Linked DNA regions of Homo sapiens: regions 1, 2, 3, 4, 5 and 6 are each linked to region 7. The links are contacts of gene promoters, found by promoter capture Hi-C in human tissues and cell types (Jung and others, 2019). All regions are on one chromosome and are shown on one strand. Each heading gives the region's core, a stretch centred on a gene start or on the middle of the fragment in contact. The rest is flanking DNA. Distances are from core to core; before and after follow the strand shown. Region 1 overlaps SLIT3 (slit guidance ligand 3). Region 2 overlaps SLIT3 (slit guidance ligand 3). Region 3 overlaps SLIT3 (slit guidance ligand 3). Region 4 overlaps SLIT3 (slit guidance ligand 3). Region 5 overlaps SLIT3 (slit guidance ligand 3). Region 6 overlaps SLIT3 (slit guidance ligand 3). Region 7 holds the start of SPDL1 (spindle apparatus coiled-coil protein 1).

Region 1 (3,409 bases), core at 500-2,999, 710 kb before region 7:
TATTGCGGCAGAGATCTCAGGCTCTGAAAACCACCGTCCTGCACTCTGCACAAGCAACTTATTTATTCATCTAGCAAATATTTTTGATGACTGGCTCACGATGTCTTCACATGAGTCTCTAATAATTCTCTTTCCAGAACTGGCTGTTGCCCCCAGATGCAAAGTAGTTTATCTGGGGCTACAAGAAGGAAGGGAGAATGGCCAAGAAAGCCAGTTAAACTTTGCCCTGCTGCAGAAATCCCTAACCAGTCCCAAGGATATCTGGAAACTTTCAAAAGCCCTAAGCCCCATTCCAGGTAATCACCTCCCAGTCAACACCAACCCTTCTCCTTTCCTTTCCTCCCACAGTGAGCCCAGCTCAGACCCTCAACCTTGGAGTTGAGCTTCCAAAGTCCAGCTCTGAGTCCAGAGACCTGGCATTATCCTGATTCTCTTTTATGCTGTCCCTACCTGGTGCTGGCTTCTTGACCCTGCCACGGAATTTTACCTCAATGACAAAACCTAGCTCCTTCCTGGTGGAAGATGGCCTCAAAGAACCATCAAACTCTGTGATATGAGTAGACCTGAAAGATTATTTATCAAGTCCAGTGGTTATTTTTCAAGCCTTTTTTCTCCCCATAGGCTCTTTGTGACACAAAATCTCATGTTGCACACTAATGTCAAAAGAGGCAATTTAAATCTTTATCACTGTTGAAAATAACTATTTGTGGGCTCTTGAAGCACCAGAGTTTCTCAGAATACAAGGTGAAATTCACTGATTTTATGTCAATGATTTATTTTAATAGAAGAGGAAATCCAGACGACAGGGTTTGGTGACAGCCTGAGGGTGGTTCTAGTACTGGTTTCCCATGGCTGCTATAACGAATTACCACAAACTGAGCGTCTTAACATAACACGAATTTATTGTCTTAGAATGCTGGAGGTCAGAAGTCCTAGATCAGTTTCACTGTGCTCGTGTCAAGGTGTCAGCAGGACTGCGTTCCTTCTGGACGCCCCAGGGTACAATCTGTTTTCCTGTCTTTTCCAGGATCGGGGTTGTCCTCCTTCCCTGAATCACGTGGTCTTTTCTCTCTCTCTGCTTCCAGCACATGTCTTTTTTCTTATGAAGACCCTTCTGATTACATTGGATCCCCTCAAATAATCCAGGATAATCTATCCACTTGAAGAACCTGAATTCTTGATTTGTAATCCTTTTTGCTATGTGGAGTACACATTCACATACATTAGAGTTTAGGATGTAGGCATTTTTAGAAGAGCCATTTTTCAGCCTACCCTAGGCAGGCAGCGGTTAATAGCGGAGCTGGGACTCCTCAGTTCTTTTCGTCCTTTCCATGTCTTGGTGGGGACAAGAGGAAGGGACAGGGCAGGGAAGTTACACCCTCTTTTTCTCTGGCCTACTTTATACCTAGCCCATTAGAAGCCATATGCCGGAAGAGGTCAGCCCCACTCAAAGAAATAACAGAAAGAGTGATGAAGTTAAATATCTTTACTAGTTAGGGAGGGTCATTTCAGAGCCAGGAAACTATAAATATGACTTTTTTTGGGGGCACATATTTGTCTAGGAAGGGAAGATTTAGTCTCTAAGATGTGATAACCTGGGCCTAGTTAATTCTCAGAGATGGAATAAAAGCAGCAATAATAATTACTACTCTTCAAAACAACATCATAAAGGGGGATTATATTATTTCCACTTAACATATGGGTTAACTGAGGCTAAGGAGGAGGCATGCAATTTGCTTAAGGTCATAAAGGTGGTAAGAACCAGGATTTGACTCCAGGCAGCCTGACTCCAGAGTCTGAGCACTTCACCATTATGTCAACCTCCTCAGAGATTCTTTGGGGAAGCACAGCTACGGGAATGGGCAGGGTCTTTGGACCACTGGTCTTTTCTCTGAAGGAGAGACTTTCACACTCATACGCTTCACACTGTGGCTGGGAAGCTGAGTCAGGGCTTGGCTGTCCTGCTGACCTGCTCTATGCACTTTGACACATGGGAGTCACTTACCCTTTTTCAAAGAAGAAAAAGGAGACTCTTATCTGAGAGTATGAAAAACCAAATAAATATAAGCTGTTGTGAAAATGAAAGAATTTACCTGCATGATTAAAAGCTCACACTTGAGGGTTTGGGGGAATGGAAGGAAGGATGAATAGGTGGGACACAGGGAAATTTTAGGGCACTGACACTATTCTGTATAACACTGTAATAGTGGATACATGTCATTACACACTTGTCAAAACCCATCCAACGTACAAACCAAACGGTGAACTCTAATGTAAACTAGGGACTTTAGTTAGTAATGTATCAATATTGGCTCAGCAGTGGTAACAAACATACCACACTAAAGCAAGGTGTTAATAGCAAGAGAAACTGTATGGTTGTGTGTTGGGGGTATATGGAAACTCTCTACACTTTCCACTCAATTCTTCTGTAAACCTCAAAATGCTCTAAAAATATAAAAATGCTCTAAAAATTAAAGTCTTTTTTTTTTTTAAAGTTCGTACTTTCTTCTTTTCTTCTTCTTCTTCTTCTTTTTTTTTTTTTTTTGAGACAGAGTCTCACTCTGTCGCTCAGGCTAGAGTGCAGTGGCACAATCTCAGCTCACTACAACCTCTGCCTCCCAGGTTCAAGTGATTCTCCTGCCTCAGCCTCTCCCGAGTAGCTGGGACTACAGGCACCCGCCACCACACCCGGCTAATTTTTCGTATTTTTAGTAGAGACGGGGTTTCACCGTGTTAGCCAGGATGGTCTTGATCTCCTGACCTCATGATCCACCTGCCTTGCACTCCCAAAGTGCTGGGATTACAGGCATGAGCCACTGTGCCTGGCCAAAAGTTCATACTTTCAGACAATCTTGATGGTCTTCTTGGAAATTCTGTCCCAACTGTGACCTTCACAGCCTGCTCCTACCTTGGGTCTTGGCTGATACCAAGCCAGAAATGCTTTTCCAACACTCCCCATGAATCTGTCTGTATCTGCTGTTTCCTTCCAGGCATCCCTCCATGCTCACCAAATCTCAGGGTTTTTCCCGGCCAATCTCTCAGAAAAACACTGCCTGAGAGTCCACGCTAATCTTGGGATCCCGCTGTAGCCTTGCCATGACCCATTCTGTGGCCTTGTGGCCTTGGGAGAGTTTCTGAATTTAAGCCTCAATTTCCACCTCTATACCTAGAGGATAAGCAACTTTTCCCTAGTGGTCCTGCAAGACTGTTGCAGTAATTAAACAAGATAATACATATGGCCGGTATAGTGACTCACACTCGTAATCCCAGCATTTTGGGAGGCTTAGGCAGGCGGATCACTTGAACCCAGTAGTTCAAGACCAGCCTGGGCAACATGGCAAAATCCTGTCTCTACAAAAAAAAAAAAAAATTAGCCGGGTGTGGTGGCTCACACCTGTAATCCTAGCTA
Region 2 (3,244 bases), core at 419-2,918, 780 kb before region 7:
GCAATCCCCTCAGTTTTTGCAAGAGGATCCACTGCTCCCAACTGCAGGCCAATGAGCCTATGCAAGTCAGGCTAGCACTGGGTGTGAGGTCTGTGGGCTCTCTATGCAGTTCCTAATCAATTACCCTCCATCTTAATGATGGGTGCAAGAATTGAGGGAGAGACTAATCAAGGAACATGATGTGACGCTGGCCCCAAGGAGTCTGAGAATCTGATGAGAGAGACCAGCCCAAGAGCATCACAGAACCAAATTTTATTGCTACCATAATAAACATCAAGAGCCATCATTTATGGGGTCTAATTGACTATGTCTATTATCTCTTTTAATCCTTCCACTTGTGAGGTAAACCATATTGGCCCCATTTTGCAGATGAGGAAAAGAAAACCTAGAGGAATCAAATAGCTTGTCCAAAGTGACAGGGCCAGGAACGGGCAGAACTGATATCTCTGTTTCTATCCATTGGATATGCTGCCTCTATATATTTGTGAAAATGGAGGAACTGAAGGGGACTTTCTCAAAGTCACAGAACAGTTTAAGGGATTAGGACCCCAGGGCTCACACACAGAGACGTCATGCAGTCTCTGTGGAAGTAGGTATTCAGGGAAAAGCTGCAGGAGCCCAGAGAAGATGAAATATAGATGTGAATACACATAAGACATATAAATGGAGTACAAAGGTGTGGCTTCCAAACGAAGAAAAAAGAATTCCAGGCTTAGCCTGTTAAGCCTGGCAGAGATCTTGCTCTGCATCCTGCACCCCTCACACTTGCTCACTCTGGCTTTTGGTTTTCTTTTCTTCTTCTTCTTCTTTTTTTTTTTTTTTTAAGAGACAGAGTCTTGCTCTGTCACCCAGGCTAGAGTGCAGTGGTGTGATCATGACTCACTGCAACCTTGAACGCCTGGGCTCAAGTGATCCTCCCACCTCAGCTTCCTGAGTAGCTAGGACCACAGGCCCATATTACCATGCCTGGCTAATTTTTAACTTCTATTTTTGTAGAGAGAGGGGTCTCACTATGTTGGCCAGGCTTATCTCAAACTCCTGGCTTCAAGCAATCCTCCTGCCTCAGCATCCCAAAGTGCTGAGATGACAGGTGTGAGCCACCACGCCTGGCCTGGGTTTCATTCTTGTCTGCAGTTACTCAGCTTCTCAGGCTGTTTTGGGCACTGGCTGAACACCCAGCCCCTCCTGGAGTGCCAAGGCCATTGCATGATGAGGGTCAACCCTGCCCCAGGAGGCAGCAGGAATTTGTCTGCAGTGGGAGCGTGGTTGCGAACAGTTTGTGTACCTTCAATGTAAAGTAAAGGAAAGGGGAGGGATAACCATAACCACCACTACCACCAAGAGCTATGATGGATCAGGTGCTTAGTTGTTAGGCACCAGGCTGAGAGTTTCACATGGTCTGTCTGACTTAATAGTCACATTCTATGAGTCAGATCTTATTAGTTATTACCACCTCCACATTAAACATGAGAAAATTGAGGCTCAGAGAGATTAAGTCACTTGCCCAAATTCACAAAGTCAGGGAGAGGTTGAGCTGGGTCTCAAAGCCAAGTTCATCTGACTTCAAAGCCCAGACTCTCAATCACCAGGCTTTGCTGAATGCCATTTGGAGCTGAAGGGCCTTCATTTTCTTAGTCCTTTCCAGCTCATCCACAGGGAAAATGGCCCCTTTGTCATGCAAGCAAGGTTGGAAAGTGTGCACACATGTGTGCAGGTTCACATGCAGTCTCTGTGCAGCAGGTACTCCTGGAAGTCTTTGCACTTAGCCTAGTCCTGCAACCTAGAACAAGGATGCAAAGGTCCAGACTCCTAGTGTGAAAAGCTCAATGGAAAGGACAAAAAGAAGCATTTGCATCAGCAAAAACTGTCACATTTAGGGATGTGTCTGAAGCCAACAGCTGATTTAGGTCTCTCTTAACTGGCACATGTGTCTTTCTTTGTCTGGCAAACACTCTTCAGGCTGCAAACTGATTTAATAGAACTAGCATAAAAACAAACATACAAATCAAACATCTGAGTGTCTTCCCGCACCAGCAAAAACAATGGGAACATCTGATGGGGATTTCAGCCATTTGTGCTCTGTATTGATTTGCCCTAGTTCCTCAGATGCTTCCTTAATGATCTGTCATTTGCAAACATGTGACTAAACACAATATATTTCTAGCAATACAGAAGTCAACATGATGCCAGGGAGCCTGGCAGGGGCACGGCCGGCACAGGGGCATGTCTGCAAGTCACCTGGTTAAAAGGTCCTGGAGTGTGTGGAAACATTGGTGGTGGTGGTGGTGGTGATAATATGAACATTTACCATTTATTGAGGGCTTTTGATATGTCAGACACTGTCTTCCTTGCACACTGGCTCAAATTATTTTTTTCAACAGTACTATGAACCAAGTAGTATTATTAATGTACTCATTTTACAGATGAGGAAATAATGGTACGAAGAGGTCAATTTTCCTAAGGTCAGGTAGCTAGTGAATGGTGGAGCCTGAATTTGAATCCAGGTTGGTCTGGTTGAAGTCCCTGTGTTCTTAACCCTTAGGCTATCCTGCCTCCCACCCAGAAGCCACTTTTGTGGTTTCTTAACTCTTTCCCATCTCTCTCAGCCTTCCTTGACTTGGGAACTCTTGTTAGGATGTCCAGATCACGCTGAAGGAAGGAAGCCCCATGTTTATTCTTCCTTTAAGTCATCCTGGGCTAGTTGGTTGGACCAGACAACTTAGACCCCAAAGGTTCAGTTCCTGATGCTTCCCTATGCTGGAAGAAGGCTAAAAAGGAAGGTTCCTTTCAAGGTTATGCTCTGGGCCCACCTTCTGGGGCAGTCCCTTTCTGGCCTCTCTCTTTCTTTACCATTGGTCCTCATGGTTCTTCAGAAAGGTAGACTGTTGGCTGGGCGCAGTGGCTCACGCCTGTAATCCCAGCACTTTGGGAGGCTGAGGCGGTTGGATCACCTGAGGTCAGGAGTTTGAGACCAGCCTGGCCAACACGGTGAAACCCATCTCTACTAAAAATACAAAAAAATTAGCTGGGCATGGTGGTGGGTGTCTGTAATCCCAGCTACTTGGGAGGCTGAGATAGGAGAATCACTTGAACCTGGGAGGCGGAGGTTGCAGTGAGCCAAGATCACACCATTGCACTCTAGCCTGGGCAATGAGAGCAAAATTCTGTCTCAAAAAAAAGAAAGAAAGAAAGAAAGGTAAAGTGTATTAGACTCTCCCATCCAGTTTACATGTTTGATCCATAG
Region 3 (3,267 bases), core at 594-3,093, 840 kb before region 7:
GCCACAAGCAAGTCTATTAGTGCCATTTTTCCAACAGCATATCTGACTTCATGTCTCTGTGTTACATTTTGGTAATTCTCACAATATTTAAAACTTTTTCATTATTATAATACTTTTATGGTGATCTGTGATCAGTGATCTTTGATGTCTCTATTGTAATTGTTTTGAGGCACCACGAACCATGCCCATCAAAGATGATGAATTTAATTGATAAATGTTGTGTGTGCTCTGACTGCTTTACCAACTAGCTGTTCCCTGTCTCCCTCTCCTCGGACCTCCCTATTTCCGGAGACAAAGTACAATATTGAAATTGGGCCAACTAATAACCCTACAACGGCCTCTAAGAATCACACATCTCTCACTTTAAATCAAAAGATAGAAATGATGAAGTTTAGTGAGGAAGACATATCAAAAACGAAGACGGATCAAAGCTAGGCCTCTTGGACCAAATAGCCAAATTGTGAACGCAAATAAAAAGTTCTTGAAGAAAATTAAAAGTGCTAGTCCAATATACACATGAATCATGAGAAAGACTTATTGCTGACATGCAAAAACTTTTAGCGGTCTGGATAGAAAAATCAAACCAGCTAAACATTCCCTCAAGCCAAAGCCTAATCCAGAGCAAGGCCCTAACTCTCCTTAATTCCGTGAAGGCTGACAGAGGTGAGAAAACTGCAGAAGAAAAGTTTGAAGCTAGCAATAGTTGGTTCATGAGGTTTAAGAAAAGAAGCCGGCTGGGCGCAGCGGCTCACACATGTAATCCCAGCACTCTGGGAATCCGGGGCGGGTGGATCATAAGGTCAGGAGATCGAGACCATCCTGGCTAACATGGTGTAACCCTGTCTCCACTAAAAATACAAAAAATTAGCCGGGCGTGGTGGCGGGCTCCTGTAGTCCCAGCTAAGGGGGAGGCTGAGGCAGGAGAATGGCATTAACCCAGGAGGTGGAGCTTGCAGTGAGCCGAGATTGCGCCACGGCACTCCAGCCTGGGTGAAAGAGCGAGACTCCATCTCAAAACAAAACGAAACAAAACAAAAGAAGCTATCTTCATAACAGGAAAGTGTAAAGTAAAGCAGCAAGTGCTGACGGAGAAGCTGTAGCAAGTTATCCAGATGATCTAGCTAAGATAATTGATGAAGGTGGCCACATTAAACAACAGATCTTCCGTGGAGACAAAATAGCCTTTTATTAAAAGAAGTAGCCATCTAAGACTTTCACAGATAGAGAGGAGAAGTCAATGCCTGGTTTCAAAGCTTCAAAGGGCAGGCTGACTTTCTTGTTAGGGGCCACTGCTGATGGTGACTTGAAGTTGAAGCCAATACTCATTTACCGTTCTGAAAATCCTAGGGCTTTTATTATGCTAAATCTACTCTGCCTGTGCTGTAGAAATATAGCAACAAAGACTGGATGATGGCATGTCTGTTTATGGCATATTTTGCTGAATATTTTAAGCCCATCGTTGAGACCTGCTGCACAAACATAAAGATTTCTTTCAAAATATTACTGCTCACTGACAATGTACCTGGTCATCTAAGAGCTCTCATGGAGATGTACACACAGATTAATGTTGTTTTCATGTCTGCTAACATAACATCCATTCTGCAGCCCATGGATCAAGGAGTAATTTCAACTTTCAAGTCTTATTATTTAAGAAATATATTTTGTAAGGCCATAACTGCCATAGATGGTGATTCCTCTGATGGATTTGGGCAAAGTAAACTGAAAAGCTTTTGGAAAGGATTCACTGTTCTAGATGCCATTTGAACATTTGTGATTCATGGTAGGAGGTCAAAATAGCAACATTAATAGGAGTTTGGAAGAAGTTGACTCCAACCATATGGATGACCTTGAGGGGTTCAAGACTTCAGTGGAGGAAGTAGCTGCAGATATGGTGAAAATAGTGAGAACTAGAATTAGAAGTGGAGCCTGAAGATGTGACTGAATTGCTGCAATCTCAGGCTAAAACTTGAGCAGATAAGGAGTTGCTTCTTATAGATGAGGAAAGAAATTGGTTTCTTGAAATGGAATCTACTTTTGGTGAAGATGCTGTGAACGTTGTTGAAATGACAACAAAGGATTTAGAATATTATATAACCTCAGTTGATAAAGTAGTAGCAGGATTTGAGAGGACTGACTCCAATTTTTTTTTTTTTTGAGACAGAGTCTCACTTTATTGCCCAAGCTGGAGTGCAGTGGCACGATCTTGGCTCACTGCAACTTCTGCCTCCCAGGTTCAAGCCATTCTCATACCTCAGCCTCCCCAGTAGCTGGAATCACAGGCGTATGCCACCATGCCCTACTAATTTTTGTATTTTCAGTAGAGATGGGGTTTCACCATGTTGGCCAGGCTGGTCTTGAACTTCTGACCTCAAGTGATCCACCTGCCTTGGCCTCCCAAAGTGCTGGGATTACAGGCGTGAGCCACGGCACCTGACCTTGACTCCAATTTTAAAAGAACTTCTACTATGGGAAAATGATGTTAAACAGCATTGTGTACTGCAGAGAAATCTTTCATGAAGAAGACTCCATTGATGTGACAAACCTCACTACTGTCTTATTTTAAGAAATTGCCATAGCCACCCAATGTTGGCCACCACCACCCTGATCAGATAGCAGCCATCAACATCAAGACAAGACCCCCGACTAGGAAAAAGATTATAACGCGCTGGAGGCTTAGGGGATCATTAGCATTTTTTAGCAATAAAGCATTTTTGAATTAAGGTATGTACATTGGTACATTGGTTTTTTTCCAACACAATGAGATTGCACACTTAATAGACTACGGTATAGTATAAACATAACTTCGATATGCACTGGGAAACCAAAACATTTGTGCGACTTGCTTCATTGCAGTTTGTGCTTTATGGTGGTCTGGAACTGAACCCACAATATCTCCAAGGTATGCCTGTACGTGCTAACCTGGCCCAGAAAAGGGGATGTGCATGGGGCCTGGCAAAAGAGATGTCAAAGTCAAGCATCAGATGTGTGTGGGTGTGGTGATGTGTGGTGTGGTGGTATGTGGGTGTGGTGGTGTGGGTGTGGTGGTATGTGGTGTGTGAGTGTGGTGGTGTGGGTGTGTGGTGGTGTGTGGTGTGTGAGTGTGGTGGTGTGGGTGTGTGGTGTCTGGTGGTGTGTAGTGTGTGAGTGTGGTGGTGTGTGGTGGTGTGGGTGTGGCAGTGTGTGGTGGTGTGCGGTGGTGTGGGTGTGGTGGTGTGTGGTGGTGTGTGGTGTGTGAGTGTGGTGGCGTGGGTGTGGCGGTGTGTGGTG
Region 4 (3,698 bases), core at 175-2,674, 680 kb before region 7:
TGCACGAGGATTCTGAGGTGGCTGAGCACATGACATACATGAATTTGAGAAGCAGATGAAGGTGACTGTGGTTAGCATGGGCAGGGGAGGCTGTTGAATGAGAATGGGGGTAGTGGCTGAGTGAATGAGAATGGGAATAGCGGCTGATTAGGAGGACAGGAGGTGATGGGCAGATGGGATCTTATTTGGATATGATCTGAGGACGAGAAGGAGCCATGGAAGGGTTTCCAGCAGGAGAGAGTGTAGTTCTTCATTGACTGTTGATGAGAATCTCTAAGCCAACATCACTCAATCAGCAGACCAACAGGCACAGGTTTTCCTTGTGCTGATTTGAAGAGCCAATTAAAAAATAACTGATATTTCAGCTAATTCATATTTACATGTAAATTTTCATTTAAAAAGCCACAGACTGGCACTCTCTCACCATATGCCTCTTCCTCGTTCAGTTCTCTGCAGTGAGGGATAAGCCGTGAGTCTCCACATACACATAGGGCTGGAGATGAAAAGACAAGGAATTCACAAGCAGCCAGGCTTCCTGGGGGTGCAAACCTGGTGTCCCTGGAAGCTGAAATTTCCTGTTCCAGCACAGTTTTCCCTGTCAGGGCTTTAGTTATTTTGGCATTTTCTGATGAGTTATAAACCTCTCAGCACCTGTGTTTCATTTGAGGTGAGAGCTGGATCCCATTCTCTAGATCAGAGGGCTGAGGCTTTGCAGCATGATGCCAAGGTCACAGTAAGCCAGGGCATGACCCCTGACTTGCCTGCTCTTTGTTCTACCTGCTCGGGCAAAAAGAGGACACCTGTGGGGGCATGGAGTGAAGGACGGGGGCAGCAGGGTCTTCAGGAATGGTCCTTCTGCTGTGCATGCATGGCTGGAACACAAAGGCCTGTCTCTGGCCCTCCTGGAGGGCCTTGCCCATCTTGTTCCTTTCTTCTCCTCTCTGTTATTGTCCCTGACCTCCCACTATGATCCCCCTCTACAATTCATAAAGATCAGAGAATCATGGCGGTCCCTCCCAGCACCTCGTTCACTGGTTTGAATTATTATTAAATAACCAAATGTAGAATTGTTTTGTCAAATGGGCATTTCCATAAAACCTTGATGTACAGAAATCATCACACTGAAGCTTCTCTGATCGAAGTGGGGACACTGGGTGGGATGACAGGGGAACTGAGTTTGTTGAACCCCAGTAGCTTAGAGCACTTTGATGTATTTTGGACCTTACCAACCCCTTCAATTTACTACTGTGGAGGCTGAGGCATGAGGTAAATACCTTGTGTGAGGCACTTGGCAAAGTGGGAACTGAAACTGAGGCCCTGTTGCCCCTGTGTCCAGCGCCCTCCTCATTCTCACTCCGCTCCCAGAAGCTTAGAGATGTGCTGAGTAGGGGGAGACAATGAAGACTCAAAGTTTTGTTCGCCTGCACTTGCTGACTACCATGCCAACTTGGGGATCACACATTCTGGATTAAAAAAATAAACCTTTGTTTCCCTCCTGGACTTTTCTGCTAAGTTTGCTTCTGGTAGAAGACTGGTGAGAAGGTTCCAATGGGGGGAAATAAACCAAATAGACTAATTCTCCAGTCCTGATAATCAGTCTTTTGGTATTCACAGCAACAAATCAGCTCCCCTCAGAGAGGCAGTTATAAAATATCAAAGCCTCTGACTCTCCTCTGTGGGGCTAATCCAGAAAATCTTACTTTAGAAATAACAATAATAATAATAATAATAATAATAATACCTCATTCATCTTTACTTATCATGTGCTAGTATGTTTCTAAGCCTTTTGGCATAGCCTTCAATGTCCCTTTCTGAATATAGAAAAAACTCCCAGACTTCACTGCAAAATGCTAATTCCAGCTCTGGGGACAAGAATGACGTCAGGAAGGTGAACTGCTATGGAGATCATACATTTCTGATAGACATGTGTGTGCAATTAGAGAAACCCCAAACAAGAGGGATCAGGCCTCTGGTCTCTGGGGGAGGGCAGTTTGTGCCAGTTTCAGCAGCACAAGGACGCCCCAGGCTGCCACAGGAGTTCTAGACATTCCTGGGGTTTTCTCAATGTTACAAACTCACAGCCTTCTTTACAAAGATGGTGATATCCGGCTGGGTGTGGTGGCTCACGCCTGTAATCCTAGCGCTTTGGGAGGCTGAGGCGGGCAGATTGCCTGAGCTCAGGAGTTTGAGACCAGCCTGGGCAACATAGTAAAACCCCATCTCTACTAAAATAAAAATAAAAATAAGAAATTAGCTGGGCGTGGCAGCGTGCACCTGTAGTCCCAGCTACTTGGGAGGCTGAGACAGGCGAATTGCTCGAACCCGGGAGGCGGAGGATGCAGTGAGCTGAGATCATGCCACTGCACTCCAGCCTGGGGACAGAGCGAGACTCCATCTCCAAAAAAAAGAAAAAAAATGGGGATGTCCAAACCCTGCTCATCAACAGAGGTGCACCCATGAAGCACCATAAGAGCATAATCCCTTTCTATCCTTTTTCCTCCTCCATGTTGCTGGCTGATTGGGTGCAAATGTACCTAGATCCTCCCCAGTCAGAGGGCCTTTCTATTTTTGTCAACACCTGTATGCTTGCTGGTGCAGCCTTCTTCTTTTGAAAATTGTTTTTTCATTATCAAGATATCCTTAATATTTTGTTAATCAGAAGGCAAGTTATTCAACAGTAGTGAAGTACGATCATGTATCTGCAAAGAAAAGGCAAGGAAAGTAGTGTGTGACTATAAAATATGAGGAGTCATGGTTCAGGTCTGTACACAGACTCGGAGAGGTGAACACATCTACAGTGTGCTCATCTCAACTTCAAAACATCAGAAGCAGGTACTGCTATTCTGGTTTTACATATATAGACACTACAGCTCAAATACTAGGCAACTTTCCCTAGGGTACAGGGAAAAGTGGTATTGGAATTCCACATGTCTGTCTGCCTCCAGAAACTCGTATACCCCTTGCTGAACCACAGCGTTTCCTTGGAGGAGCCTGGGTTAGCATGCCTGCCCTGCCTTTCCACCATCACCCATTTAGAAAGAAGGAAATATTTAGGCACACGTGGGCACAGAGATGATGTCTAGACTTTTTGACTTTGGAAAGAAGAAGGTGGTATCTCCCTGATTTAATATTACCAATCATTCTGGAGTGCCAGGAAGCAAAGCATTAAAGGAGGTGAACGCGAAAGAGATACGAAGATCTATTGAGGACTCAGCTGGAGCTGTAGAAACAGCAAGTCCTGAACTCTAATCATCAGCAAGCCCGAATTTCCACCCCACATTCCATGGAGTCTGCAAAATAGGGTAGGTGGTGTGTTTTTTCATAAGGAAGAGATCACATTCCTCTCCCCACCTTGCCCAATATTTTAATGTTCAAGAAAGGAAAGAAGAATGAAAAGAAAATCTGAACATACCGTACTATGCTATTATACTTAAAAATACAGTAAGGATTAAAACTGCCAGACCAAATTAAAACTAATGACTGGTTTGGTGCGACCCTTCCTTGCCTTTGTGTTGCCCATTGTCTCTAGCGATAAAGGAACATCACAGGCAATTTATTGGGAGCTATTCTCAAATGAATTGCATTTGCTGAGAAAAGCACATTTAGCATTTGGTGATTCATACATGGGAAACATTATTGCTCTGGAAAAGAGTTTAAAATAAGTGAGATTTAGAGCTCAGAGAACGAAAAAACAGAGA
Region 5 (3,534 bases), core at 637-3,136, 550 kb before region 7:
GGAGGGAGAGTGGTTTTCATTAAGGAACTGCCCTTTATCTCGTCACATTACTGACCTGCTGGAGCTGAGACGGGCTGCTTCCTTTAGCCTTTAAAGGAAGCTGCCTCTGGTCAGAAACTACGATAAGAAAGCATTCATTTTTAAGACACCCACAAAAGACAGAAGTGTGGCACTGTGGTGGCTTGGTTTTCTGAGTTTAATCCCCAAATATTCTTTAAATTGTAAACCTTGTGACCACCTCTGATGCACAGAAGCCTTAAGAATGCCAGGGGTTATTTCTCCAAATGTTTGGTTATTAGTGATGGGAAAAAAAAAAAATCTGTGAATTATGTACTTCAGAGCTCAGGGGGACTTGAACTATCACCTAGAACTGCGTCTACTCTTAACTCAGGGTCATACATGTCCCAGAGGACCATTGGTCAGCTTCAGGGCTGTGTAGGCTCCCACAAATCCCATTGTGCGCTTACCAGCTGGGTGAACTGAGATGAATTCTCTTGTCTTTGCCACGGTTTTCTCATCTAGAAACTGGGCATTGTGACCTCCTAGGATTCTTGCAAGGATTAAATATAACACATGTAAAGTGCCTTGTACAGTGCCTGGCACATAGTTGGCACTTAATAAATGCTATAATCATCATTGCTTGTTATTACTATATTATTATTCAGGCAGTCTAACAATTGTGAGCAATATTTTGCATTTATTTGCACATGTCCACTTTCCTAGGAAGAGGTCCATACATTTCATTTTCATTTCCCCCAAAAGGAGAAGAACCACTAAGCTAGCTAGACTAATAACTTCTTTAATTGATGAGTAAAATCCTACCCAGAGGTTTAAGTATTTTTTCGACAATCACATGGTAACCTAGAGGCAAGGTGAGAGCTAGAACCCAAAATGTGTTGATTCCACTGCTTTCCAAAATTTTGGCAACACTAGCAAAAGCAGCCCAGGCCTTGCACAAAAGTGACCTATAAATAAATGTAGAATAGGCCTGGACATATATTGGTGGCTTCAAGGCAAAGGGAGTGTTCAGGGGTCTGGAGGTGTGTGATGGCTGTGGAGCTGTGAAAACACCACTTGACATGTATAATCAACAGAAGAGGGGGTGTGCAAACCAGATAGGAGGAGGAATGGGTGGGGACTCCAGGAAGAAAACACCCCAGTTGCAAATTCTTCTGCATTTCCCATGCAATAGCAAAGCAAGTTGATCCCATAAGCTATCCGTAAGCTTCACCAAATCCAAGAGAATCTATGCATAGCTGACTTAGGAAACAGTAGGTATTTGTTGAATTCTGAGTGATTGCACCACTTTCTCCGAGAAGACATAGCCACAGGACTTTGAGGTTTGCACTCTTTTTGTTAGCCAGATTCCTTAAAATACTCTGATATTTTCCTAGTTCATTTGTTCTCAAAGGGTGGCCCTGGGCCAGCACTATAGCTGTCATTGGGGGAACTTGTTAGAAATGCAAATTTTGGGTCCTCTCCTCGGACCTACTGCATCAGAGACTGTGGGGTGGGGCCCAGCAATCTGTTTTAACAGGGTTTCCAGGTAATTCTGGTGTGCACTCAACTTTGAGAACCACTAAGTTAATTGGTGTGGCAGAGAAACTAAGCAAGAAATGAGGGCTTGAAAAAGCCTTCCAGCAACTGAATCCCTAGAATACATTTTTTGTTTGTTTGTTTGAAATAAACTGGAACTCGATTAGTAACTTACATCTTCCTGTGTTTTGCAAACAAGAGATCTTGGAAGGAAGTAGAAAATCAATTTCAAGGCCTTTCATCTCAGTTACAATGACACATTCATTTTAGCATTGTGTGGGGAGGGAGGGAAGGAGAGAGCAGGCAGGCAGTGGTTGGGTTTGTGGAGAGGAATACACAATTCCAATGGAATCCACTGTAATTTAGGGGCAATTAGCATCTGCACATTCTCCATTCATGAGGCTCCATTAATCCAGTTAATCCTCATCTTCTAATCAAAAACAAACATCCTTGAGTGTACTTGAGATCCTTTTAACACATTCTCCCCACCTGAATGCTGTCCTCTGCCTTGTAATCCAGGGCTTTTAGGAACCACTTCAGCTTTTGGAAAGAGGGGAGCTACCCACCACCTTGGCTGGGTCCTGCCAGCCCCTTGGAAACCTGCCCTCTCCTAGGCTGCACCCTCCCCTGAAACTTGTTCTTTGACTAGACCTGCCCTCTCCCTGCTATTATTTAAGTCATTCTTGATACTTCTTTGCTATTCTGGGCAGCCTTCCCTGACGACTTTCTGACTGCCCCTTGGCTAAACACACAAATGCTTGGATAATACTAATGCCTTGCATTGCTAAGTCACTTCACTGTTTCCAAAGGCCTTTCCTAGTCCACTTTTCATTTGATCCTCCAAACTATCATAATATCATTACTATTTCTCCACTTCCCACCCACTCTCACCCTCCCTCTTCAATTTACAGATGGGGGCCACTGAGGCTTTCAGAGATTTTGTGACCTACCAAACTGGCACAGCTAGTAAATGGATGACAAGGTAGGTTCAAACCCAGGACTCCTGATCCGCAGGCGGAGATCTATTATAGAACACTGTTTCTTTCTGACCACCCACCTAAATCCATAATGCCAATGAATAATGCATTTGTCCTTTCACTGTGTTTATGTCTTTGGAATGTTTTTGTATCTATGGAAATCAGTGCATCTTCCTTAATTTTGAAGCCTCTAAGGAGAAGAAACCCTATCTGTGTAACTCAGGCTCAAATAATACTGTAAAGTACTTCTACCTATTCAAAATATTTTCATCTTTGTCTTATTTTATCCACAAAACAATCATATGAGTTAAGGAGGATAAACAATATTACATCTATTTAATGGTAAGAAAACTGAAGTTTGGCCAATAAAAGCAACTTATTGGCTCGGAAGTAGAACGTGGTATGGTTGGGAATAGAATACGGCTTTCTAATTTCTGGTTCTGTATTTATCTATTAGATATGTGGTTTTAAAATTGTGACCCTCGGGCTCTTGCATGCTTCTTCTTGGAAAGGCGAGGCAGACAGGGCTCAGGGTATTCTACCACTGGTTTAACTAAAAGCTTTCCTCTCCTGAATAGCAACTTAGAAGCCCCTGACAGGTCCTCATTTCCTGTCTTGAGTATCCAGCATAGTAGTCGTACTAGTCAGGTGTAAGCAGTGGCTTCAGGATAATATCCTTGCAGATGGCCCTGGGAAGCCTTGAAGTTTTTGCAAGCATTTCAGACTCCCTGGCTTGTGATCAGTGTAGGCAGTGAAAACTGCACTTTGTCCTCAGAGTAGGAAAGTTACCCCTCAGCCATTTCATATTCTGTTCATTAATTCAACAAATATTTGTTGAGTTACTATGTGCTAAGTACTGTGTTTGCGTCTGGGACTAGAGGGGTAGAAAAAAAATATGGAGGTGATTTCACCTCTACCCTCATAGAAGATGCCTTCTGATAGATCTGAAACAGATAATCTTACCAATAAATAATTCCAAATCGTAATAAAAGCTATGCAGGAAAGATCTGTTTGTTGCATG
Region 6 (3,684 bases), core at 955-3,454, 660 kb before region 7:
GACACTTCTCCACACATGATCCTGCACAGAAAATAGCTCTCCTTTCCTTGCTCTGTTCTCCCCAGCCTTCTAAAAAAATGCTTATAATCCCACACTCTATGTTCCTGAATACTTTACTTCTCTCACGCTTCCACTCCAAGGCGCATACCCAGGCTCATCCATTCACCTCACGTACAAAATGAAGAGGGCAATTTTCTGTAGTAAAGATATATGGGAGAAGCCAACCTCAAGTTCACATCTGTTAAAGCATTTCTCTGTTGGCAACATTTTTACAAGCCTCTCAAAGCTATATGCTTAATTAAAATAAAAGGGTGATATACATCATTGCACCAAGTCTTTGCTGATATAGAGGAAGGAAGGGGAAAAATGAGCGCATTAGTTCTCTTTTATTAAAAGAGTTATTTCAGCATGACATCTCAACTAAAGACTAGCCATTAGCAAAATTAAAAATTAGGTGATGTTGATTTTGGGAAATGTACACATTTAATGCCTTCCTCTTTCCTCCGGCTGCATCTCCTGTCCCGGCTCCAAGCTGCTTACTTTCCTCCCACCCGCTCAGGGAGCATCCTTGATCTTTGAGTACCCAGAACTGATTATCATAATGATGGAATGACAAGGAGAAGGAGAACACTTTGTTTATAAATGCTATCCTTCTTCAAATTAAATTAGAACAAAAAGGCTAACCTTTACTGAGCACATACTACATGTGAGACACTGGTCTAAGCTCATTTAATTATGAGCTCATTTAATTATGTAAATCACTCTTAGGAAGTATAGGGGAAGAAAAGCAATATTTATGGAACACCTGCCATATCCTAAATGCATTATGGGAATTTTCTATATTAATCCATATACCAACCATGCAAGGTTAATGAAATGAACTCCATTTTACAGATGAGCAAACTGAGGCTCTGAGAAGTAACTGGCCCCATGCTGCAGTGTTAGTAAGTCAAGGAGCAAGGTTTCAAACTGCAAATAATTAATTTCAATTCTGTATAGAACACAAGAAGTGAGGCCAGGTGCGGTGGCTCACACCTGTAATCCCAGCACTTTGGGAGGCTGAGGCAGGTGGATCATGAGGTCAGGAGATCGAGACCATCCTGGCGAACATGGTGAAACCCTGTCTCTCTTAAAAATACAAAAAATTAGCCGGGCATGGTGGCGGGTGCCTGTAGTCCCAGCTACTCGGGAGGCTGAGGCAGGAGAATGGCGTTAACCCAGGAGGCGGAGCTTGCAGTGAGCCGAGATTGTGCCACTGCACTCCAGCTTGGGCAACAGAGCGAGACTCTGTCTCAAAAAAAAAAAAAAAAAAAAGAAGTGGAAGGTGGGAACCATAGCAAGTAAAAATCCGTAGAGGTGGGAACGTGCATGATGCATTTGAGAACAGGCTGACCAAGATTAAGGAGTCTGCAAGGGGAAGAGAGAGAGAAAAAGGGCACAGATCAGAGCTGGTCTTCAACTGCAGATGCTGGAGTGCCAGGGAAAGGGCAAGGAGCTTCAGTTTGGAGGCAATGGGCAACCATCAGAAGTTTTTCCAGCAGGTACACAGGAACAGAGCTTCATGAAGCTTGATCAGGCAGTGATGTATCAACTGATGATAAGGGAGATAAATACACAGGTAAGAGGTCTGGGCCTAAGACAAAGAGGGCTCAGCTAGGGCCAGGTGCTTGTGTTGAATATGAAACTATGAGTGCTGCATGCTAGGTGAACTCTCACTATCCTAAATGCAGGAACTGAAGTGATTTCGACAAACATTTTGGGATTCCCTTAATACCTGAACATATGTAGCGAAAGTCTTAGCATCTGAACTTAGAACTGAGTAGATACGGAAAGTGAGGATACTTTCATTAAGAGGTTGAGTAGCGGAGTTACCAGATCATGTGCTTGACTAGATGGGAGCAGAGGGGACTTGTAGGAAATAAAGAGTCAAGAATCATTCCAGCTCGGAACCTTTAGGACTGGGGCAATGACAGGTGAATCCATACACTGAAGAGAAATGCCTTGATTGAGAATGTTTTGGGGGAAACAGTTTAACAAACCACAGGATGGCAGATAAACAGCAGGGTGAGCAAGCTAAGCCCCAGAACATCCTACGAGCCACAGTTCTGGGCGTCAGTCTTGAAGCTCCCCCTCCCTAATCCTTATATCTGACCAACCACCAAATTCTAGCATTTCTACTCCCAAATATCTGTTCAGTCCACTTCTCACCTCCACTGGCAGCATCCTCCCCCAAGCTACCATCCCTTCAACTGGGCTACTCAAATCCCTCTGCTTCCTGACAATTACCTTCCACCTTAAGTCACAGGGCTCTTCACAAACATAAATATGATTAGGTAACCCCCTTCCTAAATATCTTTTTTTTTTTTTTTTTTGAGATGGAGTCTCACTCTGTTGCCCAGGCTGGAGTGCAGTGGCACAGTCTCGACTCACTGCAACCTCCGCCTCCTGGGTTCAAGCAATTCTCCTGCCTCGGCCTCTCAGTTAGCTGGGATTACAGGCACCTGCCACCATGCCCAGCTAACTTTTTATATTTTTACTACAGACTGGGTTTCACCATGTTGGGCAGGCTGGTCTTGAACTCCTGACCTCGTGATCCACCCAACTTAGCCTCTCAAAGTGCTGGGATTACAGGCATGAGCCATCACGTCCTGCCAATATCTTTTAAAGGCTTCTCAGTGTCCTTAGACTAAGCCAGGCATTGGCAAACTATGGCCTGTGGGCCAAATCCAGCCTGCTGCCTGAAATAAAGGTTACCGGAACACAGCCACGCTCAATCATTTACATGTTGTCTACGGCTGCTTTTGCACCACAACAGCAGAATGGAATAGGGTCACAGAGACTGTCTGGCCTGCAAAGCCTAAAATAATATCTGGTCCTTTACAGAATGGGTTTGCCAACCACTGGACTAGATAGAAGTCTGTACCCGGGTCCACAAGGCCCTGCATGATCTGACCCGTCTGCTTCTCCAGTCTCTCTTCACACCTCTGACCCTTCTGCTCTGTCATTTCAGTCATGGTGGCAGACTTTTGGCCACTCACAGGAGCCATAGACATGGAGCTAAGTGGTCATGTGTCGGCCTGGACTGGACCATGTGTTTCTGGGGCACAGACTTTTGGGATCCAGGGCACTCCTAGCCCCCAGTCTTTGCCTGGCTTCCTCTTCCCATGTCCTGCTTCTCTCCTTCCTGCGGGTTGGGACCCAGTACCCTCCATCTCTCTCACTCCTCCCCTCTCAAACCCTTCTTTTAGGAAAGGAGTCCAAATCGACCACTTACACCTCAGTTCAATGCAAGCCAGTATAATTAATAAGGAACATTTAAGGGTGTGTAAGGGTGTGTGTGTGTGTATGTGTGTGTGTGTGTGTGTGTAGCTCACTCTGCCTCTGCCACCCAGGCTGGAGTGCAGCAGCACAATCACAGTTCACTGCAATCTTGAACTCCCAGGCTCAAGCAATCCTCCCACCTCAAAATCCCAAGTAGCTGGGATTAGAGATACATGCCACCACACCCTACTAATTTTTTTTGTACTTTTTGTAGAGATGGGGTTTTGCCATGTTGCCCAGGCTGGTCTTGAACTTCTGAGCTCAAGCAATCTGCTCGCTTTGGCATCTCAAAGTATTAGGATTACAGGCGTGAGCCACCGCACCCAGCTGCATTTGAGTTTTGAGCCTTGTTTCTAATTGGCA
Region 7 (3,679 bases), core at 16-2,515:
CAATCTTAAAGCTCAGATCAACCCTTTGAGTCTGGCTTAGCTCAGGCAGAAATTGTAGTCTGCAAAAGAAACTGAGAAGAAGAGGGCAAGGAGAGTGTGGCATCCCAAGACATAAAGACTCAAATCAATGAGAGCAAGCAACTCTGTCAAATTTCACCAGAAGTGAGGACTAAATATTGACTACCGAATTTTGCAAGGTAGGAATCACTGGTAAACCTAACAAGAGCCACTTCATAGTATTGGTTGGGACCAAATCCTGGTTAAAGTGGGAAAAACAAACAAAAGAACAAAAGGTAAGAAAATGGAGATAATGGATGTAAAGATTTTTTTTCCCCAGAAATTTTGTTATAAAGAGAAGAAAACAAATGGGGTGGTTGCCGATTGGTGTCAAGGAGGATTTTTTAAAAAATGAAATCATGAAATGATTTTATGGCAATCACTGCAGCATGTTTATGAACTGATAGGGAAGATCCAATAGAGAAGAAAAAACTGAAGATGCAAAAAAGAGCAGTTAGAGCCAAGTTCTCAAATAGGCAAGAAAAGATGGGCTCGAAAGAACGACATGATTCATGTAACAGTTACTAGGACTCATCAGTGCTCATTAAATGTTATCTATTATTATTTCTGATCGCTTCAATTTTTGAATAGGCATCAGGGTTACAAAATATTATTATTAAAAACACATGCAAACAGCTTGGACTCTAAGACTGCATTCAATTCTAGTTCTACCACTTGGACAAGGCACTTTTTTTCTTCGGGCTTTTTCTCTGTAGAAAACGAGGAGTAATATCTGCCTCATAAGGCTGCGGGCTTAACTGAGATAATCTGTAAACTTTAACACATGGTGGGAACTTAAATATTAACGCCAGTATTACCACTGGTAGGGTGCATGAGATCGCACGATGGTGCCAAAGGTGTCTCTCCACCGCCCAGCCCAGCGACACTGTTCCCCTAGAAGGCATTGTCGTAAAAACAAAAAAAAAAAAAAAACGAACAAACAAAACACCAAAACACGGAAACTAAAAGCAAATACTTAAAAGACATGCAGGAAACCAGCCCAAGGAAAAATTTATGTGGAGCCACGTCTGCGCCTGCGCCTGCGCCAAGCCCACGGCGCGCCACTTGCACATGCGCAGTAGCTGTAGGAGGGGGTGGGCGCTCCATTGGGCGTTTCTCTTGGTTTTTCCTTTCCGCGCGGCTTGGGCGGACGTCTCGTGAGACGTGGGACTTCTCGCGGGAACTGCATTCAAATATCCCAGGCGCTTACTCGAGAGCTAGCTGAGCGAATGGGCCGGCGACTGTGGAGTTAGCGTCCTCAATGTGGACGCCCTGAGCTCCCATTAGGAGCCGCTGGCTGCGGCAGCAGGGGACTAGCGTGAGAGGTAGGGGCAAGGGGCCTGGTGGGAGGTGGGTGTGGAGAGCGGCAGTGGGGAGAGTCGAACAGGCCCTAAAGAAAGCTAGGGGCCGGGGTCTCGGCCGAGGCCTTTAGCTGAAACATCTCCTTCCCCGGAACCCTGGGGTCTTATACACTGGGTTCCGAGCCGGTCTTATCTTCCGCTGGACCACCTCGCCGCCCTCAGGGATTCTGGACAAATATGGAACGTTGGGTCGGTTGCCGGGTCCTCAAAATTATAACCGCCACTGGATCTGCGCTGTGCGGTACGGTAGCCTCTAGCCCGAACTAAGAAATGGTGCAGATGGGAGATACATATTGGGTTTCAGAGATAGCGCATAAGGAGTAATATCTCATTAATAATTTTTATAATGATTACATGTTGAAATGATGTTTTGAGTGTATTTGTTTAAATATGTAAATTAATTTTTCATCTTTGTTTACTTTTTAAATCATGATGGCTCCTAGAACATTTAAAATCACGTACATGACTCGCGTTATATTTCTGCTGGACAGCACTGCCCCAGCCGTGTGTCAGATTCTACCCTAATTGCTTTTCATTCGTTATCTCATTTAATCCTTTCAGTAACCGATTAGGTGGGTGTTATTGTGCTTGTTTTTATAGATGATTAAACCAGAAATTAAATAACTTGTCCAAGTTCATGCAGCCAGTGAGTAGTGGAGGCGGGGTAAGAACTCAGGCAGTTTGATTCCCAGAGTTTCCTGTGTCCCAAATGCTTTGTGTGTGCTATATTTTTGAGAAGCAGGACAGGAAAAATGGTTGCAGCACCATGGTTTCTAGGTAGATTCTAGTTCCCATCACACTTCGCGTCTTAACTTGCGGGTAACCCTAAGCAAGTTACTTAAAACTTTCTATGCCTCAGCTTGCATGTGTAAAATGAGGGAAATACCTTCAACCTCTTGAAGTTGTTGAGAAGATTGAATAAGAATGTGTATAAAGCGGCCGGGTGCGGTGGCTCACGCCTGTAATCCCAGCTACTCGGGAGGCTGAGGCAGGAGAATGGCGTGAACCCGGGAAGCGGAGCTTGCAGTGAGCCGAGATTGCGCCACTGCAGTCCGCAGTCTGGCCTGGGCGACAGAGCGAGACTCCGTCTCAAAAAAAAAAAAAAGAATGTGTATAAAGCACCAAGCACAATGTCTGTCACACATTAGTAGTTTTTAATCAACCACGGCTATCTCTCTTTGTAGATTGATAGGTTAACTCTTTCTCATCCATTAGACCTCTGCTGAAAAGTTACTTCCTCAGGAAAATTTTTTTGTCCATGTTCCCTTCTACGCGCTGCCCCCCAGATTAGGACAGCTCCCCCTTGTTACAGGCTCAGGTAGCATACATCTGTCTCTCTTGCACTTATCATACTTGTAACTTGATAGTTCAATTACTTGATTTAATGTCTTTTACTAATAGACTAGGATTCAAGAAGACAGGAATATTGTTTTAGGTTGCCATTGTGTTGTCAACACTAGCACAATGTCTCACACAATAAGAATTCCAGCAAATTTTTTGAATAAACTAAAGCAAATTTTTTTTGGCTTCTCTGGATATGCCTGGCTGGAATGTCTTGAGGTTAACCCTATTTTTATTTTGGTAGTTGAGATGACAGTATTTACTTAACTCAAGCTCATCAAGATAATTAGATGAGATAATATATTTGAAGCAGTTAGCATGGCAAATGGTAAATCCTCAACGAATGTAAGTTATTGTGAACAGTACAACATTTAGTTGGCTGGCCGTATCATGTACAGGCTTTGAAAAGGTCTTGCATTTTAGAGCAGTGACTGCCAAGCTGGGATTACCTAGAACACCTTTTTTTCTCTCTTAAACCCTGTATCTCTTCCCTTGTCTTCATTCTCAGTTAAAGACCTTGCTTCCTAATTCATTGATAAATTGAAGCAGTTAAAAGGTTACTTACACAGACTTCCACCACTGTACCTGCTTATCAGCATCTAAACTCATATACTTTGCTTAAATGAAATATCCATGCTTCTATTAAAACCAGTCTCTACATTAAACTTCATCCTGTTTATTCAGGGACATCACTAGCAATTCTCCAGTGTCTTCTAGATCATCAGTTTTTCTTCTCTCCTGGATTTATCCCATGACCTACAAACACTGTTATTTTTTTCCATCTTAAAAATAAAAAAACTTGTCCCTACTTCCTCTCCAACTGCTGCTCCGTTTATCCGTTATCCTTTGCAGCAAACCTGTGCTTGCTATCTTTATCTCCTACCATTCTCTCTTGAAGGCATTCTAGTTAGGCTTTCACC

What was found. Contacts are between HindIII fragments. The study calls those that stand out against the background at their distance.
Region 1: a fragment that was not itself captured here is called in contact with the fragment with the promoter of SPDL1 in region 7 in 1 of the 25 tissues and cell types used here (dorsolateral prefrontal cortex).
Region 2: a contact is called between a fragment that was not itself captured here and the fragment with the promoter of SPDL1 in region 7, in 2 of the 25 tissues and cell types used here (adrenal gland and pancreas).
Region 3: a fragment that was not itself captured here is called in contact with the fragment with the promoter of SPDL1 in region 7 in 1 of the 25 tissues and cell types used here (mesenchymal stem cells).
Region 4: a fragment that was not itself captured here is called in contact with the fragment with the promoter of SPDL1 in region 7 in 1 of the 25 tissues and cell types used here (mesenchymal stem cells).
Region 5: a fragment that was not itself captured here is called in contact with the fragment with the promoter of SPDL1 in region 7 in 2 of the 25 tissues and cell types used here (aorta and hippocampus).
Region 6: a contact is called between a fragment that was not itself captured here and the fragment with the promoter of SPDL1 in region 7, in 3 of the 25 tissues and cell types used here (dorsolateral prefrontal cortex, mesendoderm cells and thymus).

What each region holds. Positions count from the first base shown.
Region 1 is chr5:168,870,112-168,873,520 of GRCh38, forward strand. The region is part of intron 5 of SLIT3 (slit guidance ligand 3); the gene reads right to left. Among named protein-coding and RNA genes, the nearest start is that of MIR218-2, 100 kb to the left of the region's middle. The HindIII fragment of the contact is 7,819 bases long and covers 1-3,409 here.
Region 2 is chr5:168,797,417-168,800,660 of GRCh38, forward strand. The region is part of intron 9 of SLIT3 (slit guidance ligand 3); the gene reads right to left. Among named protein-coding and RNA genes, the nearest start is that of MIR218-2, 31 kb to the left of the region's middle. The HindIII fragment of the contact is 8,813 bases long and covers 1-3,244 here.
Region 3 is chr5:168,743,276-168,746,542 of GRCh38, forward strand. All of the region lies in intron 20 of SLIT3 (slit guidance ligand 3), which reads right to left. Among named protein-coding and RNA genes, the nearest start is that of MIR218-2, 23 kb to the right of the region's middle. RefSeq lists an enhancer at 2,726-3,267. The HindIII fragment of the contact is 5,187 bases long and covers 1-3,267 here.
Region 4 is chr5:168,902,778-168,906,475 of GRCh38, forward strand. All of the region lies in intron 4 of SLIT3 (slit guidance ligand 3), which reads right to left. Among named protein-coding and RNA genes, the nearest start is that of SLIT3-AS1, 110 kb to the right of the region's middle. The HindIII fragment of the contact is 3,318 bases long and covers 1-3,083 here.
Region 5 is chr5:169,027,939-169,031,472 of GRCh38, forward strand. All of the region lies in intron 4 of SLIT3 (slit guidance ligand 3), which reads right to left. SLIT3-AS1 (SLIT3 antisense RNA 1) reads left to right here. Exons shown (of 5, transcript NR_109897.1): 3 at 2,448-2,518. Among named protein-coding and RNA genes, the nearest start is that of SLIT3-AS1, 16 kb to the left of the region's middle. The HindIII fragment of the contact is 4,139 bases long and covers 1-3,534 here.
Region 6 is chr5:168,921,163-168,924,846 of GRCh38, forward strand. The region is part of intron 4 of SLIT3 (slit guidance ligand 3); the gene reads right to left. Among named protein-coding and RNA genes, the nearest start is that of SLIT3-AS1, 90 kb to the right of the region's middle. The HindIII fragment of the contact is 6,328 bases long and covers 1-3,684 here.
Region 7 is chr5:169,582,508-169,586,186 of GRCh38, forward strand. It overlaps SPDL1 (spindle apparatus coiled-coil protein 1), which reads left to right and starts at 1,266. Exons shown (of 12, transcript NM_017785.5): 1 at 1,266-1,382. LOC105377714 (a long non-coding RNA gene) reads right to left here and starts at 1,154. Exons shown (of 3, transcript XR_941200.3): 1 at 876-1,154. RefSeq lists an enhancer at 893-1,893. The HindIII fragment of the contact is 9,913 bases long and covers 1-3,679 here.